3 separate regions of the Homo sapiens genome follow, and regions 1 and 3 are each linked to region 2. Evidence: promoter capture Hi-C in human tissues and cell types (Jung and others, 2019). All regions are on one chromosome and are shown on one strand. Each heading gives the region's core, a stretch centred on a gene start or on the middle of the fragment in contact. The rest is flanking DNA. Distances are from core to core; before and after follow the strand shown. Region 1 holds the start of PROZ (protein Z, vitamin K dependent plasma glycoprotein). Region 2 holds the start of F7 (coagulation factor VII). Region 3 holds the start of LOC124903215 (a long non-coding RNA gene).

Region 1 (5,004 bases), core at 1,642-4,141, 53 kb before region 2:
GTCCCCGTGCTTGTCTGGTGGTGGCTGCAGCTCTTTGCTTACTCATTCCCAGGTGGGTCCTTACCCTGGCCTCCCCCAGCCCCGTGGGTCTCCATCTGTGTTACTTCTGTCCCATGCTCTTCTGCAGTTGCCCACCTAGAGCTCCTCCCTTGGGAGGAGTCTCCTAACCAAAGTCTCCATCGGGGCCATGACTTTCCAAAATTTGAGACGAGTTCTGACCCTGCTGCAGCATGAGGCTTCCCAGGAGCCCAGGAGCCAGGCGGCTGGAGGAGCTGCTCTGGGGGGGCCCTCCTGGCCTGTGGCCCATGTCCCAGAGTGCCAAGAAACTACCCAGACACTGGGCAAGACAAACCAGGCACTGCCTGTGGCCCTGGTGGCAGAGCCCGGGGGCTTCCTGACCTGGTCCTTGGGGAGAGTCGGAGCTGCCCTTCCCTGGAGAGACACCGTGGGTCCTGGAGCCAGAGGCTTGGCATCCGCTGAGCTGGGGTCGTGAAGCGTCCTAAGCCCACCCACGCACCTCATCCCGAGGAATTAATACTTCTGAGGAGACGAAGGAAACCACTTACCCTTATATCGTCTCCAGAATTCATCCTTTAGAGTTAAAACATAAAAATGTTACAAATGGGATATTTGTTTTTCTATATTCTTTCCTGTAGATGAACTTGAAGGTAAGAAAATGTTGATTTTATTCACTTAATAGGACAATAGTGGTTGAAACAATGCACAATTTTCCTGTTTTACAGCCTATTTGTTTATGTTAAATGTATAGTAACTAAATGTATCTGTAAGATATATTACTCAACATGTGCTTACCACCACCTATTTGAGGAAGGCCAGAGTCTATGACATGGCACAAACCCACCACCCACAGCCCCTAACGTGGCCCTTCCCTTCTAGGGCCAATCTCCACGCCACCCTCCACAAAAGCACATGATATAGAAGTCACATCACCTTTTCGCTTTTTATAAACCGAGTTGAATTTTAAAGATATATACCTCTGTAGGGAGTGGGGACACTTAGTTTGGGGTAGGAGTATCTAAAATTAGGAGAATTATTCAGACTTGAAGCCTAGAAAGAAAATGTATGCTGGGTGTCTGATCAGTGTGTGGGCCTTGCCTGACCTGAAGAAATGAGTCCAGTGGGCTCTGAGCTGACTTCCAGCCCCACTCACTGCTGTAGGGAAAGGTGGATTAAGTCGATTCTCTAAATTGTTTCCTCATCTGTAAAACTGGGATTGTGTCAACCTCATCGGTAAGTAAATAGGCTAATTAATTAAGCTTAATCTCTGAGAAATGATGCTCCCTGGGCCAGCAGAAGTCTAAATAATGAGGAGGCCTGTGGTTTGTGGTGGGGGTACATACAGTGACTACTTCATTTTCAAACACTTCTCTTGCTTCTTCATAGACACAGATTTCTTCATAACATTCTTTTTCCAAGTTTCCCTCGAAGAGTTCTTCCAGAAGATAGGAGCCCGCACGCTTCCACCTCACCAGAACGTCGTTTGCTTTGGAGGCCGGGAGAAATACTACAGACGAGACAAGAAGGCAGGTGACTGGGAGCACCGAGGGCCCTGCTTTCCAGAGCTGCCTGGCTTCCTCCCCGGCCGGCCGCCAGCCCCAGCCCCGTCCGTCTCCACAGGCTCTCAGCCTGCGAGGGCCTCAGGGCCACCCCGCTACTCCCTCCCCCGAGGTAGGCAAGCACTTCATCCTCTGGGCGAATGGATCAGCCCCAGGATCAGTGCGGATACACTAAGGTTCTGCAGAGAGGCCACGGGCCTCAGTCAGGAAAGTGGAGGAGGGAGGGCTCCAACTGGGTTTTGGGTCTGAGTGCGAAGGAAGGCTGAGCTGGGGTCAAAGGTCCCCGTACTGAGAACTGGGGACCAAGAGCCATCAGCTCCTGTGCTGCCTCTGTGCGCAGCATTTAACATCTTGATAAAACACATAAAGAAGAAACTTATACATTGCAGCAGGCTCTGCGATTTCCAGGAGGAGAAGGCAAATGAGTTGACCCGCGGCAGTGGTCTCTGGAGCCTCTTCCCACCTGAGGGTCCCAAAGCATGTTCTCTCCCTCTCCGGGAGGGTCAAAGCCCAGGCCCTTCCCATCCTCCCTCCTTTTCTCTCGGTGCTGAGGGTTACAGCAGGGGGGGCTCAGCTAAGTCCGGCTACGGTAAGTGCTGGGCAGGGCAGGGCGGGGGGATCACCCTCTCAGGGTGGGAGACCATGGGGCCAGCGGGAGACCATGGGGCCAGCGGGGATGCTGGGTGTTTTGACTTGCAGCTTTCCTGGACGCCTGTGCAGGCAGAGTCAGAATGGAGTCCATGTCGTTCCTTCAGTGAAGTGGCTGGTGGTAGAAGGGTGGCAGGCAGGCAGGGTGGCTGCTCCCTGGCTATGTCTCCTGACTCAAGACTGGGCATTCCTGGCTGGCCTGGCCAAGGCTCTCTCTGCCCACATTGCAGTCTGGGCTCAGCCTGCCCCACCCCCTCCCCTCGTCCAATGCCCAACCCAGGCCTCCCCCCACTCCTCCCCCTTTCCCCCTCCCCTCTCCCCGGCCTTTCCCGGCTGAATCCCCTGCACACAGGCTTCTTTCCATTTGGGCATCTCTTGGGAGGACCCCAAGTGACACTATCATGTCCCAAATACTTGTCACCAAATGATAAAGATCCAAACAGCTTTTTCAGGGGAATTAAGACTAGTCTGGGCACTCAGGGCTCCTCTGGCTCCTGGAAAAAGCCTCATCTACAAATCCACCATGGACCGAGTCAAGAAAGACACAGCACAGGCACAACAGACAGGTAAGCCAGATGCCTACCTGAGGGCTCCACACGATGGAGGGCGAGGACCAGGACCAGGCCCTGGAGCAGTGGGACGCAGCCTGCCATTCCCACCCGGAGCGCTGGGACAGGGCTACAAACACAGCCAAAGTCCAGGCTGGGGGAGGTGCCGGCAGCAGGAGCCTCGGGGCACGACCTGTGCAGCTGTGTGCTTCCCTCCTGACGTTTTCTGTTTGAGGCCAGGCAGAGAAATGAACGGTGAAGGCTCAGAGGACCCTGGGAGATATTTAGGGAGACAGAGAACAGAAGGTAAAGGCAGCAGGTGCAAGGTGGAAGGTGGCACCCATGCCCGTGTGTGGTCAATGGAGGTGAGATAGGCCCTGGGGACACAGCACTGGGCGGGACAGACAAAGTCACATGCAGCTTACGTTCTAGGTGTGTGTGGAATACACAGAAAAGAACGAGGGAAAGAGACAGGAGGGAGTGAGGGAGGGAAAGCAGGAGGATGGAAAGAAGGAAGGGGAGAAAAGGAAGGGAGGGAGGGAGGAGGGAGAAAGCGGGGAAGGGCCAAATAGTGTCTGTCACTACAGCTCAGCACCATTGTAGCAGAGGCAGCATAGACAATCATGAATGAACACTTGGCTGTGTGCCAATAAAGCTTTATTTATAAGAGCTATTAAGGGGCCAGATTTGGCCCCAGGGTTGTCGTTTGCTGCTTTCAGATGTAGGCCCTGTGTATTAGTCCCTTCTTACACTGTTATGAAGAAATAGCCAAGACTGGGTAATTTAAGAAAAGAGGTTTAGTTGACTCCCAGTTCCACATGGCTGGGGAGGCCTCAGGAAACTTATAATTATGGCAGAAGGCACCTCTTCACAGGGTGGCAGCAGAGAGAATGACTGAAGCAGGGGAAATGCCAGATCCTTATAAAACCATCAAATCTCTTGAGACTCACTCACTATCCCAAGAATAGCATGGTGGAAACCACCCCCATGATTCAATTACCTCCCACCGGGTCCCTCCCAGGACACGTGGGGACTATGGGGATTACAATTCAAGATAAGATTTCGGTGGGGACACAGCCAAACCATATCAGCCCTTGAAGCCTGAGGTAAGAACCTGGTGTTTCATTTTCACTGTGTTGGGAAGATATTGGAGGGAACAGGAATTGACATGGAAAGATTTGTGCTCTGAAGGGATCACTGGGCTGCTGTGTGGAGAACAGAACATTCCAGAGAAGTCAAAAGGGAGGCTGCCGGCTAGTCCAGGAGGGGGTGAGGGTGCAGCCATGCAGCAGGAAGCACGTTTGCAGTCTGGATGCTTCAGGAAGGGAAAGCTGATGGGATTCATGATGAATTGTGTCGGGCAGCACGGCTCCAAGGTTTGGGCTGAGCGATTGGGAGGATGGCAGTGCGTGTGCTGAGACGGCCAAGCTCCAGGAGGGCAGAGGGAAGCGAGGTTTGGCAAATTTGAGGTGTCTGTGGGATGTCCAGGTGGAGACAGGAGTGGGCATCCGAGAAGCTGGGACTCACAGTGGAGATTCAGGTGGTAACAGATGAAATGACAGCATTGTCAGCATATAGATATTGTTCGATTGAATGACACTCAAAGGTGGCAAAACTCAATGAAAGGATTCTAAATACAATTTTGTTAAAGTGGGAACAGAAGAAAACTAAGAAGCTGACACCCTTGATTAAGAGGGCATGCCCGCAAATACACTGAAGTTGTGAAGTTTGCTTTAAAAAGCTGGGAAAAGAAAATAAAGTTTATCTTTAGTGAGTGAGTTAAAATAATTTGAAAGCCAGAAGTTGATTGTATAGGATAGCTCTTGGGTGAATTGCACCAGCCTGGCAATCTACGTGGCCTTCACTTAAGAAAAGGTGCCTTTTTTTGTGTGAAAATGTATTCCCACATGGAAATTTACATTAAAAATACTTCTGCTGGATAGTTTAAAAACCATCAATAGCTGCCTAAAAATGGAAAGGCAGACAGGGACATACACATTCGATCAATAAGTGTTAATTAAGCACATCCTATATGCCTGACATGGGTATCTGAGCTACAACCTCTTCCCTCATGGACCATTTTAGTCTGTTGGGGCTGCTGTAACAAAACACCTTAGAGTGGGTAATTTACGATAAACAGAAACGTAGTGCTCACAGTTCTGGAGGATGGGAAGTCCAAGATCAAGGCTCCAGTAGACTCAGTGTCTGGTGACGGCCCATGATTCATAGAC
Region 2 (4,454 bases), core at 1,888-4,387:
GCTCCCGGGACACCCTCGCCTCCGGAACACCCACACTCCCGGGACACCCTCGCCTCCGGAACACCCACACTCCCGGGACACCCACTCCCCCGGGACACCCACACTCCCGGGACACCCACGCCCCCGGGACACCCACACCCCTGGGACACCCACACTCCCGGGACACCCTCGCCTCTGGAACACCCACACTCCCGGGACACCCACGACCCCCGGGACACCCACACCCCCGGGACACTCACACTTCTGGGATACCCTCGCCTCTGGAACACCCACACTCCCGGGACACCCACGCCCCCGGGACACCCACACTCCTGGGACACCCTCGCCTCCGGGACACCCACACTCCCGGGACACCCACTCCCCCGGGACACCCACACTCCCGGGACACCCACGCCCCCGGGACACCCACGCTCCCGGGACACCCTCGCCTCCGGGACACCCACGCTCCTGGGACACCCTCGCCTCCGGAACACCCACACTCCCGGGACACCCACTCCCCCGGGACACCCACACTCCCGGGACACCCACACCCCCGGGACACCCACACCCCCGGGACACCCACACTCCCGGGACACCCTCGCCTCCGGAACACCCACACTCCCGGGACACCCTCGCCTCCGGAACACCCACACTCCCGGGACACCCACAACCCCCGGGACACCCACGCCCCCGGGACACCCACACTCCCGGGACACCCTCGCCTCCGGAACACCCACACTCCCGGGACACCCTCGCCTCCGGAACACCCACACTCCCGGGACACCCACGCCCCTGGGACACCCACACTCCCGGGACACCCTCGCCTCCGGAACACCCACACTCCCGGGACACCCTCACCTCCGGAACACCCACACTCCCGGGACACCCACGCCCCCGGGACACCCACACTCCCGGGACACCCTCGCCTCCGGAACACCCACACTCCCGGGACACCCTCACCTCCGGAACACCCACACTCCCGGGACACCCACGCCCCCGGGACACCCACACCCCCGGGACACCCACGCCCCTGGGACACTCACACTTCTGGGATACCCTCGCCTCCGGAACACCCACGCCCCCGGGACACCCACGCCCCCGGGACACCCACGCCCCCGGGACACGCACACTCCCGGGACACCCTCGCCTCCGGAACACCCACACTCCCGGGACACCCACACTCCCGGGACACCCACGCCCCCGGGACACCCACACTCCCGGGACACCCACGCCCCCGGGACACCCACACTCCCGGGACACCCACGCCCCCGGGACACCCACGCTCCCGGGACACCCACGCCCCCGGGACACCCACACTCCCGGGACACCCTCGCCTCCGGGACACCCACACTCCCGGGACACCCACTCCCCCGGGACACCCACACTCCCGGGACACCCTCGCCTCCGGGACACCCACACTCCCGGGACACCCACTCCCCCGGGACACCCACACTCCCGGGACACCCACGCCCCCGGGACACCCACACTCCCGGGACACCCTCGCCTCCGGGACACCCACACTCCCGGGACACCCACTCCCCCGGGACACCCACACTCCCGGGACACCCTCGCCTCCGGGACACCCACACTCCCGGGACACCCACGCCCCCGGGACACCCACACTCCCGGGACACCCACGCCCCCGGGACACCCACACTCCTGGGACACCCACGCCCCCGGGACACCCACACTCCCGGGACACCCACACCCTTGGAGGCTGGTGTGAGCAGAGCCGGTGACCGCCCTGGGGTGAAAGCAGATTTGCATCAGAAAAGCTCTCAAGAACTGAGGAAAACCTGATGAAGAACACACGATTATCTGGAAGGAACAGAATGGAGCAAAGAAGATAAAATCGCCTGCACCCCAGTCCCAGGGAAGGCCAAGCTGGAGCGGTCACTTCCTCTCGAGCAGGGAACACCCTCCTTGGGGGGCACTGCAGTAGCCACCCCGCGGGCTGGCTCTTTGCCATGGGAGGGGAAGGAGGTGATGTTGGCCCCCACTGGGCCCCAGGACAAAACCAGTGGCAGTCCCTGCTCACCTCTGTGAGGCCCCGGCTTCCACGGCATGTCCCGTGTTTCTCCTCCTGAGGCCTTAGCGACCCCGCCTGGGGCAGGAAGGTGGCCGGGGTCATAAGGCCATGCTGTGAGCTAGGGCTGCAGCCCCACATCCCAGGCACTGTCCCTCACAGCCCACCCCCCACTCGCCATCCCCACACGCCATCCCCACGCCCCACTAGCCATCCTCACGCCACACCCCCTACTCGCCATCCCCATGCCCCACTCACCATTCCCAGGCCCCAGCCCCACTCGCCATCCCCACCCCCCCATGCCCCATCCTCTGCACCCCACACGCCCTTTCCATGCCCCATCCCCCACACCCCACATGCCCCATCCCCGACACCCCACACACCCCATCCCCCACACCTCCATGCCCCATCCCCTGCACCCCACACGCCCTTTCCATGCCCCATCCCCCACACCCCACACACTTTCCCACACCTCACCCCCACACCCCATGCCCCACATGCTGTTTCCCAGGCCCCACCCCCCCACGGCCCATCCCCCACACCCCACACGCCATCCCCACCCCCGATCCTCCACACCCCATCCCCTACGCCCCACATGCCGTTTCCCACACCCCATCCCCCATGCCCCAGGCGCCATCCCCCACGCACCGTCCCCTACCTGTGCTCCCCAGCCTGGGAGCACCCTGTGCGCACTTCCTGCACTCTGAGAGGCCCCAGACTCCCTGCGCTTGTCCGACCTCACAGGCAGGGGCCCATGGGGGCCAGGAAAGCACCACCCACTCCTAAAGTTCTTTGAAAAATAATCCCGCCAAAGCCTGGGCCACCAAGAAGGGCCTCCCCTCCTGTGCCTGGATGCTGGTTTCTAGAAGGAAAGAAATTGAACAGGAGCCGCCAGAAAACCCTCCTGGTGGATGGGGGTGTCCGGAGCAAGGGCGGGGTTTGGGAAGCCCGGGCTGGCTCCTGGATTTGCCCACTGCCCTTCCACCAAGTTTATGGAGAAAACCTCCCCGGACGCACCTGCAGCCAGGCAGCCCTGAAGCCCAAGCAGAAGGCAGAGGAGCCTGAGGGCCTGGGAGACCATGATGAAATCTCTGCAGTGCTGCCCCTGCCTGTTGACATTCCCCATGGGACTGACGGGCAAAGTTCTCTGCCTCCAAGGGTGACAGAGGGATGGGGGAGGGGAGGACACAGGCGTCCTCTGAACACCCCAGCTGAGAGCTGCACCTGGCCGGCCAGTGGCCATGCATCCCCTGCTGCCCAGCCACTGAGCTCAAGTGGGGGGGACAGGAGAAAGGTCAGGTGACCCCAGCTGTGCTGCAGAGCGGACGGTTTTGTTGCCAGCGTGCAGGTGTTAAGGTGTGTGTGGCACCAACACTTCAAATACGATCTAGAATTCCAAACCCCTAATGTAAGTTGGGAAACAGATTTAAACTGCAGATGAAAACTTGTCCCATAGCAATCATGCGAGTCAAATCTCAAGACTGTATCTTGGGTGTGGATGTAAATATTTGAAGAGAGCCTCCAGACCAGGCCAGCTAGGCCGTTGCCTGCAAGGGAGGCTGGTTTCTTAGGTGAGCCACAGAGCCTCACTGAGAAGTGCCGGGAATAGGATCATTCTGGCCCTGAGCTGGGCACCCCCACTCCGTTTTGACTGCAGGCAGCACCCCCATTCTCCAGCGGTCCACATCTTACGTCTTTTTGTTTGTTTTGTTTTGTTTGTTTGAGACAGAGTCTTGCTCTGTTGCCAGGCTGGAGAGTGCACTGGTGCAATCTCACTGCAACCTCCACCTCCCGGGTTCAAGTGATTCTTGTGCCTCAGCCTCCTGAGTAGCTGGGACCACAGGTGCACGTCACCATGCCTGGCTAATTTATATATATATATTTTTTTTTTTTAGCAGAGATGGGGTTTCACCGTGTTGACCAGGCTGGTTTCGAACTCCTGACCTCAAGTGATCCACATGCCTCAGCCTCCCAAAGTGCTGGGATTACAGGCGTGAGCCACTGTGCCCGGCTGGCGGCAGTCCACGTCATTTCTACCTGCTGTCATGGGCCCAAGCCACAAGCTGTGGTGACTAACCACCCCAGGTTGCCCAGGGACTGAGGGTTCTCAGAATGTGGAACTTTCCATCCCAAAAACACTGGGGTAGACGGTCATCCAAGCCTCCTGGGTTGCCCAGCAGGCCTGTCTGACCCCTCAAGCAGGGAGTATCCTCCATGTGAACAGTTGCATTGCTGATGACTTCTTTGGAAGCTGATGTCCAGTTCTTTTTACGGCTGGAGGGAGGGAGGTGATTCCTTCCCAACAGCCAAGTCTTAGCTCAGGGGTGCCTTTCAAAGCAGCCCCCAGCACCCCCAAAGCCTCCCTGCTTGCTGCTGACCTGCATCTCAGTCCAGAGAGCAGAGCACTTGCTGAGGGGCCGACAGGGCATGTTTTCTCTTCCACCCAGCA
Region 3 (5,026 bases), core at 1,698-4,197, 35 kb before region 2:
TGTGTGTTGGAAAACTTTTCCTAATGAAACATTGAAGAAAAAAAAGTTTTCAGGCAGAAGGAATGGCGCACGCAAACAACTGGAGGCACAGGAGAGCGTCTGGAATAGCACAGCTCCCAGAGAGGCCACGCCGAGATGTTAGGAAGCTTCCTTTTGTATAACGGCCAATTAGGGCACCAAGGCCAAGAGAATGGCTGAAACATGTTGGAGGAAGGCAGGGGTGTGGGGGAGCAGGAGAGGAGAGGAGGGGGGAATGGATGGCAAGGGGCTTCTCTGTGGCCACACGTGTCTGGGGTCAGATGGGCACAGCTTAGCTGTTTACTTGCTGTGCTCCTGCGCAGTCTGAGGAGGCTCCGGTGAATCTGCCAGCCGCAGGGGCCTCCACCCCGCCGTGCCTCAGCTCTGTCCATGTGTGCAGTCACCACCCTTCCAAGTTCTGAGTTCATCCATTATTTGGAACTGAACTTTTTTTTTTTTTTGAGATGGAGTTTCTCTCTTGTCTCCCAGGCTGGAGTGCAATGGCATGATCTTGGCTCATTGCAACCTCCACCTCCTGGGTTCAGGCGATTCTCCTGCCTCAGCCTCCCGAGTAGCTGGGATTACAGGCGTGCGCCACCACGCCCAGCTAAGTTTTTGTATTTTTTTTTTTATAGAGACAGGGTTTCACCATGTTGGCCAGGCTGGTCTTGAACTCCTGACCTCAGGTGATCCACCCACCTTGGCTTCCCAAAGTGCTGGGATTACAGGCGTGAGCCACCTTGCCCAGCCTGAACTTTTTGCACTACAAAGTAGATTATGTAATTTTATTTTCACACATCACATTTGCCTTTTGATTTTTTTTTTTTTTTTTTTTTTGAGACAGAGTCTCATTCTGTTGCCCAGGCTGGAGCGCAGTGGCGCAATCTCGGCTCAGTGCTCAGTGCAAGCTCCGCCTTCCAGGTTCACGCCATTCTCTTGCCTCAGCCTCCTGAGCAGCTGGGACTACAGGCGTGCACCACCATGCCCAGCTAATTTTTTTTTTTTTTTGTATTTTTACTAGAGACGGGGTTTCACTGTGTTGGCCAGGATGGTCTCGATCTCCTGACCTCATGATCCGCCCGCCTTGGCCTCCCAAAATGCTGGGATTACAGGCATGAGCTACTGCACCCGGCCCACACTTGGTTTTAAATGGATTTGTGATTGTTTCTAGAATTAAAAAATATTCGTGTGTATGTCAAGAAATGACTTCAGTTAAAATATTTTTTAACCAGCTTAAGCTTGAATGTCATTGCCAGTAGCAAGGTCAGCCACAGTGTCTTTCACTTGCTGAGATGTTTCAGGCACATAATTGAAGCAGCGCTTGAAGGATGCATATGGAACCCGGTCTTTTCGTGATCACTCATCTTTGGAAGTAAATTGTTTTCGGTAAGAAGGATATGAAAGGAAGAGTGACAGAACACTCGGGAGTAACCTGTGTCTGGAGGGGACAGTCATGGTAGCCGGGGGCAGAACACGGTCTGGGGGCTGAGCCGCACCTGAAGCCGGAAGGTGAGCTGGGTCACCAGGCTCTTGAAAAGGCGGGCCTGGAACTCTGCCCTTCGAATATGCCCCCGGGTGAGGCCAACGCTGCGGGTCGGGCCAGCTATGAGTGGGAGTGGGGTTGCTGTGCAAGGTGCAGCTGTGACGCCTAGGCCCCGCCTTCGAGGGCCTCATGTGTGCTGGCCGTGTGGAAGTGCCGGCAGCCAGGCAAGCCCAGCGTAGGCAATGCCCACGGGGTCAGGACAGGGAGGCTCGTCCCCACCCTGCCCAGTCCCCTGCCTGTCCTGTGCTCACTGCCCTCTGGCCGCCTGTTGTCCACATTCATCAAGGAAAAGAAAAACTACGTTCAATGAACACTGGTCCTGGTAAAAGGAGCTCAGAGCCTGAGCGTCCCCTGACTCCTATCCCAGCCCCGCACCTTAGCTCCAGTTCCTCGGGCCAGCTCTGCCCTTTGCCTGCCCTGGTGCTTTGAGCCCTTGCACTGGATCCCCCCACAGTCCCAATGCAGACTGAGGGCCTGCGGTGGGCCAGGCATCATGCAAAGTGCTCCAGGGATCACCCAAGCAGTCAGGCAATAGTGTTGGTCCCATTTGTCAGATGGGGAAGCTGAGGTTAAACAGCAGATCTGGCTTACAGAAATAATGGGTCTGTTTCCAAACCTCATGGTCTTCATGTTTGAACCACCTGGGCCCGGAGCCCAGGGCTCAGTCCTGTCCTCTTGGTGTCACTGTTACCTGCCAGGCCCGCCCAGAACATGCCTGTGTCCCCACCCCCTGGCACGGGCTTGTCCTCCCTGGCCCGGCCCAGCGGCAGCGGGTGGCTGTGGCCCAACGTGCCTCCTACCTGTGGGAATGCAGGCCTTGCCGTTGTCAGCCAGGGTGTACCCGCGGGCGCAGGAGCACACCACAGAGTTCTGTTCCTCGTGGCAGAACTGGTCACAGTCCCCGTTGTCCAGGCTGCAGAGCTTCCGTGTGACTGCAAAGGAGAGGCACGTTGGCTCTGGGGACAGCTGGAGAAATGGAGGCTGGGCTGGCCCAAGGGTGCCAGCTACATCCACTTGCCTGTCAGCCACAAAGCGGCCATTGGGTTGAGCAAAGGGCCAGAGCCAGGCGACAGGTACACTTGCCTTGAAGGGCAACCTCACGGGTCACGGGGAGCTCATGGTGCAGTGCCCGGTGTAGCCAGAAGCCAGGCTCCAGGTACCTGCCCCTCACACCTCCGGGATGGCCGGTACCCCCTGCCCCAGCAGCACTCACATTACGGTCACTCCACATCCCTCTGTGTGGCTTTTGATGAAAAAGTAATCACAGTGCAAAGATCAACATGCCTGAAATTTTAGAAAATGTGCATAATAGCCCTGGGAGCCTGAACAGGGTTATGCCTCATAAGTTACCAAATGGTGTTCCAGGGAGGCGACTGCGGACTTGGAATGGAATGATGCGTAATTGATATTCTCATCAGGGAAAACTCAAAAGTAATCCAATCTAAGAACACAGTCTAAAGATGATCAATTAGGCCGGCGCTGTGCCTCACGCCTGTAATCCCAGCACTTTGGGAGGTCGAAGCGGGCGGATCACCAGGTCAGGAGATCGAGACCATCCTGGCTAACACGGTGAAACCCCGTCTCCACTAAAAAATTAAAAAAAAAAAAAATTAGCCGGGACTGGTGGCCGGGGCCTATAGTCCCAGCTACTTGGGAGGCTGAGGCAGGAGAATGGCGTGAACCTGGCAGGCGGAGCTTGCGGTGAGCTGAGATCGTGCCACTGCACTCTAGCCTGGGCCACAGAGCGAGACTCCATCTCAAAAAAAAAAAAAAAAAAGATGATCAATTAAGTACTTTAAAAGAAATGCAAATCTTTTTCCTTAGGGAAATTGATCTAACAGTAGCCTAACTTTTTATTTAAAACTTAATCACCACATTAGAGAAAGCACTTAGTGATTTTTCCACGTAGAACTAATTAAATGTATCAAATTTTTATAATTGGCCAATCACAAATATTCACAAATATTGACACCTGCATCCATACACATAAATAAGAGGTGATTTAGAATCACTGCACAGGGTCACAAGGAGCAGGAATAACAGGGCAATGCACTTGGCCCCAAGGAAAACAGAGAGTCCACTCCTGTTTACACATGAATGGATCACACGCTTCATCAATGTTCTACAGTCTCTCTCGGAGGAGCAGAGAAGTGACTGTGTCTCTCTCATCATGCCCCCAAACCGAATCGTTTGGGGGACATATTGGGGCTTTTTTTTCTATTGCTATAGTGGCACAGTATAATAGGTATAATAGAGCCCAGACTTTGTAAATCAGAAATGACTTAAGATTGTTTCATTAGGCGTTTTCACTTCTTCCCCCGCCCACCTGCCACTCTTCAGGGGCATCTGATCTGAAGGTATACCAAGCAGAGGAACCTACATAATTCACAGTTTTTGCCTTCGAATCCTTCTAAACAGGTGCAGGTGTATTCCCCGAGGCCGTCTTTACATTTGCCCTGGTTCTGGCAAGGACTGGTCTCACACTGGTCGCCATCTGCAAAGAGAGGATTTCGAAACTGGAGTCTGCAAGCTGTTTCCGGCATCATGGAAACAGTTTTGCTGTGCTAACCTTGGCCCTGCCGTTCAGATAACTGGAAGAGTCTTCCGGTTTCTCTGTAAACAACTCCCCCTCTTTGGACTTTATTTGATCCACCCCCTTTTGTGGCCATGTGTACGTGATGCCTTTATCTAGGTGGATCACCGGCCCAGCTTTTTGATTTTTGCCGGTGTTTTGCAGTGTGTTTACAGTCAGAGGTGACCACAGGGACCAACTGGAAGGATGGAGGAAAGGTGAGAGCCTGATGCTCATTTCTGGGCTGGGCCTTGACGGGAGAGGAGGTTAGGGTTCCTCTTTCCAAATCATCCTGGGGCAAAAGGAGAAGGCAAACACTAACACGGGGCTTCCCATTTCTTGGAGGATTTACACAATCTCATTTAGAGATAGGCCCAGTTGTCATTTTGAGAAATGTGAATACTGTTACCAGGTAGTCATGACTGAGGCCACTTCAGATGCTATTAAGCATTAAATCAAGGTGGTTACCTTAGTCGGGAATCTAATCTTTCAGACTCTGTTTTTTGCTTTTACCGAATACACTTTTATTTAAGAAAAGTTATCATGGAATTTGGTATCCTCAAATGAGAATGAACTGATTTAAATATATATCTCTAACTCAATAACAAAACTAGGATTAGTATAAAATTACTCTAAAAACTCTTTTACAATAACTATTATGGAAACACCCTGAGGGAAAAAGTCTTAAATGAGTAAAATGAGAACAAAAGCAGAAAGGAAATTCAGGAACTATTTTCAAAATTCAAATATCCTGATGAACCCCTCTCACTGAAGGTTAAAACAGAAAAAATACTGACCTTTGTATTTATTCCAGAATTCATTCTAAAAGGAAAAAAGAAATTTAAAAATATATTAGGGAAAACAGAGACATTTTATACCAATAACAACCATAA

What was found. The method cuts DNA at HindIII sites, captures the fragments that hold promoters and counts their contacts. A contact is called where the count stands out against the background at its distance.
Region 1: the fragment with the promoter of PROZ here is called in contact with the fragment with the promoter of F7 in region 2 in 13 of the 25 tissues and cell types used here (H1 embryonic stem cells, IMR-90 fibroblasts, adrenal gland and 10 more).
Region 3: a fragment that was not itself captured here is called in contact with the fragment with the promoter of F7 in region 2 in 1 of the 25 tissues and cell types used here (liver).

What each region holds. Positions count from the first base shown.
Region 1 is chr13:113,156,535-113,161,538 of GRCh38, reverse strand. It overlaps PROZ (protein Z, vitamin K dependent plasma glycoprotein), which reads right to left and starts at 2,891. Exons shown (of 8, transcript NM_003891.3): 1 at 2,809-2,891; 2 at 1,362-1,525; 3 at 567-591. The coding sequence starts at 2,878. It overlaps LOC124903216 (a long non-coding RNA gene), which reads right to left. Exons shown (of 4, transcript XR_007063880.1): 4 at 4,929-5,004. RefSeq lists enhancers at 1,677-2,254, 2,831-3,408. The HindIII fragment of the contact is 7,105 bases long and covers 1-5,004 here.
Region 2 is chr13:113,104,474-113,108,927 of GRCh38, reverse strand. It overlaps F7 (coagulation factor VII), which reads right to left and starts at 3,137. Exons shown (of 8, transcript NM_019616.4): 1 at 3,023-3,137. The coding sequence starts at 3,086. The HindIII fragment of the contact is 23,631 bases long and covers 1-4,454 here.
Region 3 is chr13:113,138,386-113,143,411 of GRCh38, reverse strand. F10 (coagulation factor X) reads right to left here. Exons shown (of 8, transcript NM_000504.4): 3 at 4,931-4,955; 4 at 3,942-4,055; 5 at 2,362-2,493. It overlaps LOC124903215 (a long non-coding RNA gene), which reads left to right and starts at 4,055. Exons shown (of 2, transcript XR_007063879.1): 1 at 4,055-4,351. RefSeq lists an enhancer at 1-246. The HindIII fragment of the contact is 4,492 bases long and covers 702-5,026 here.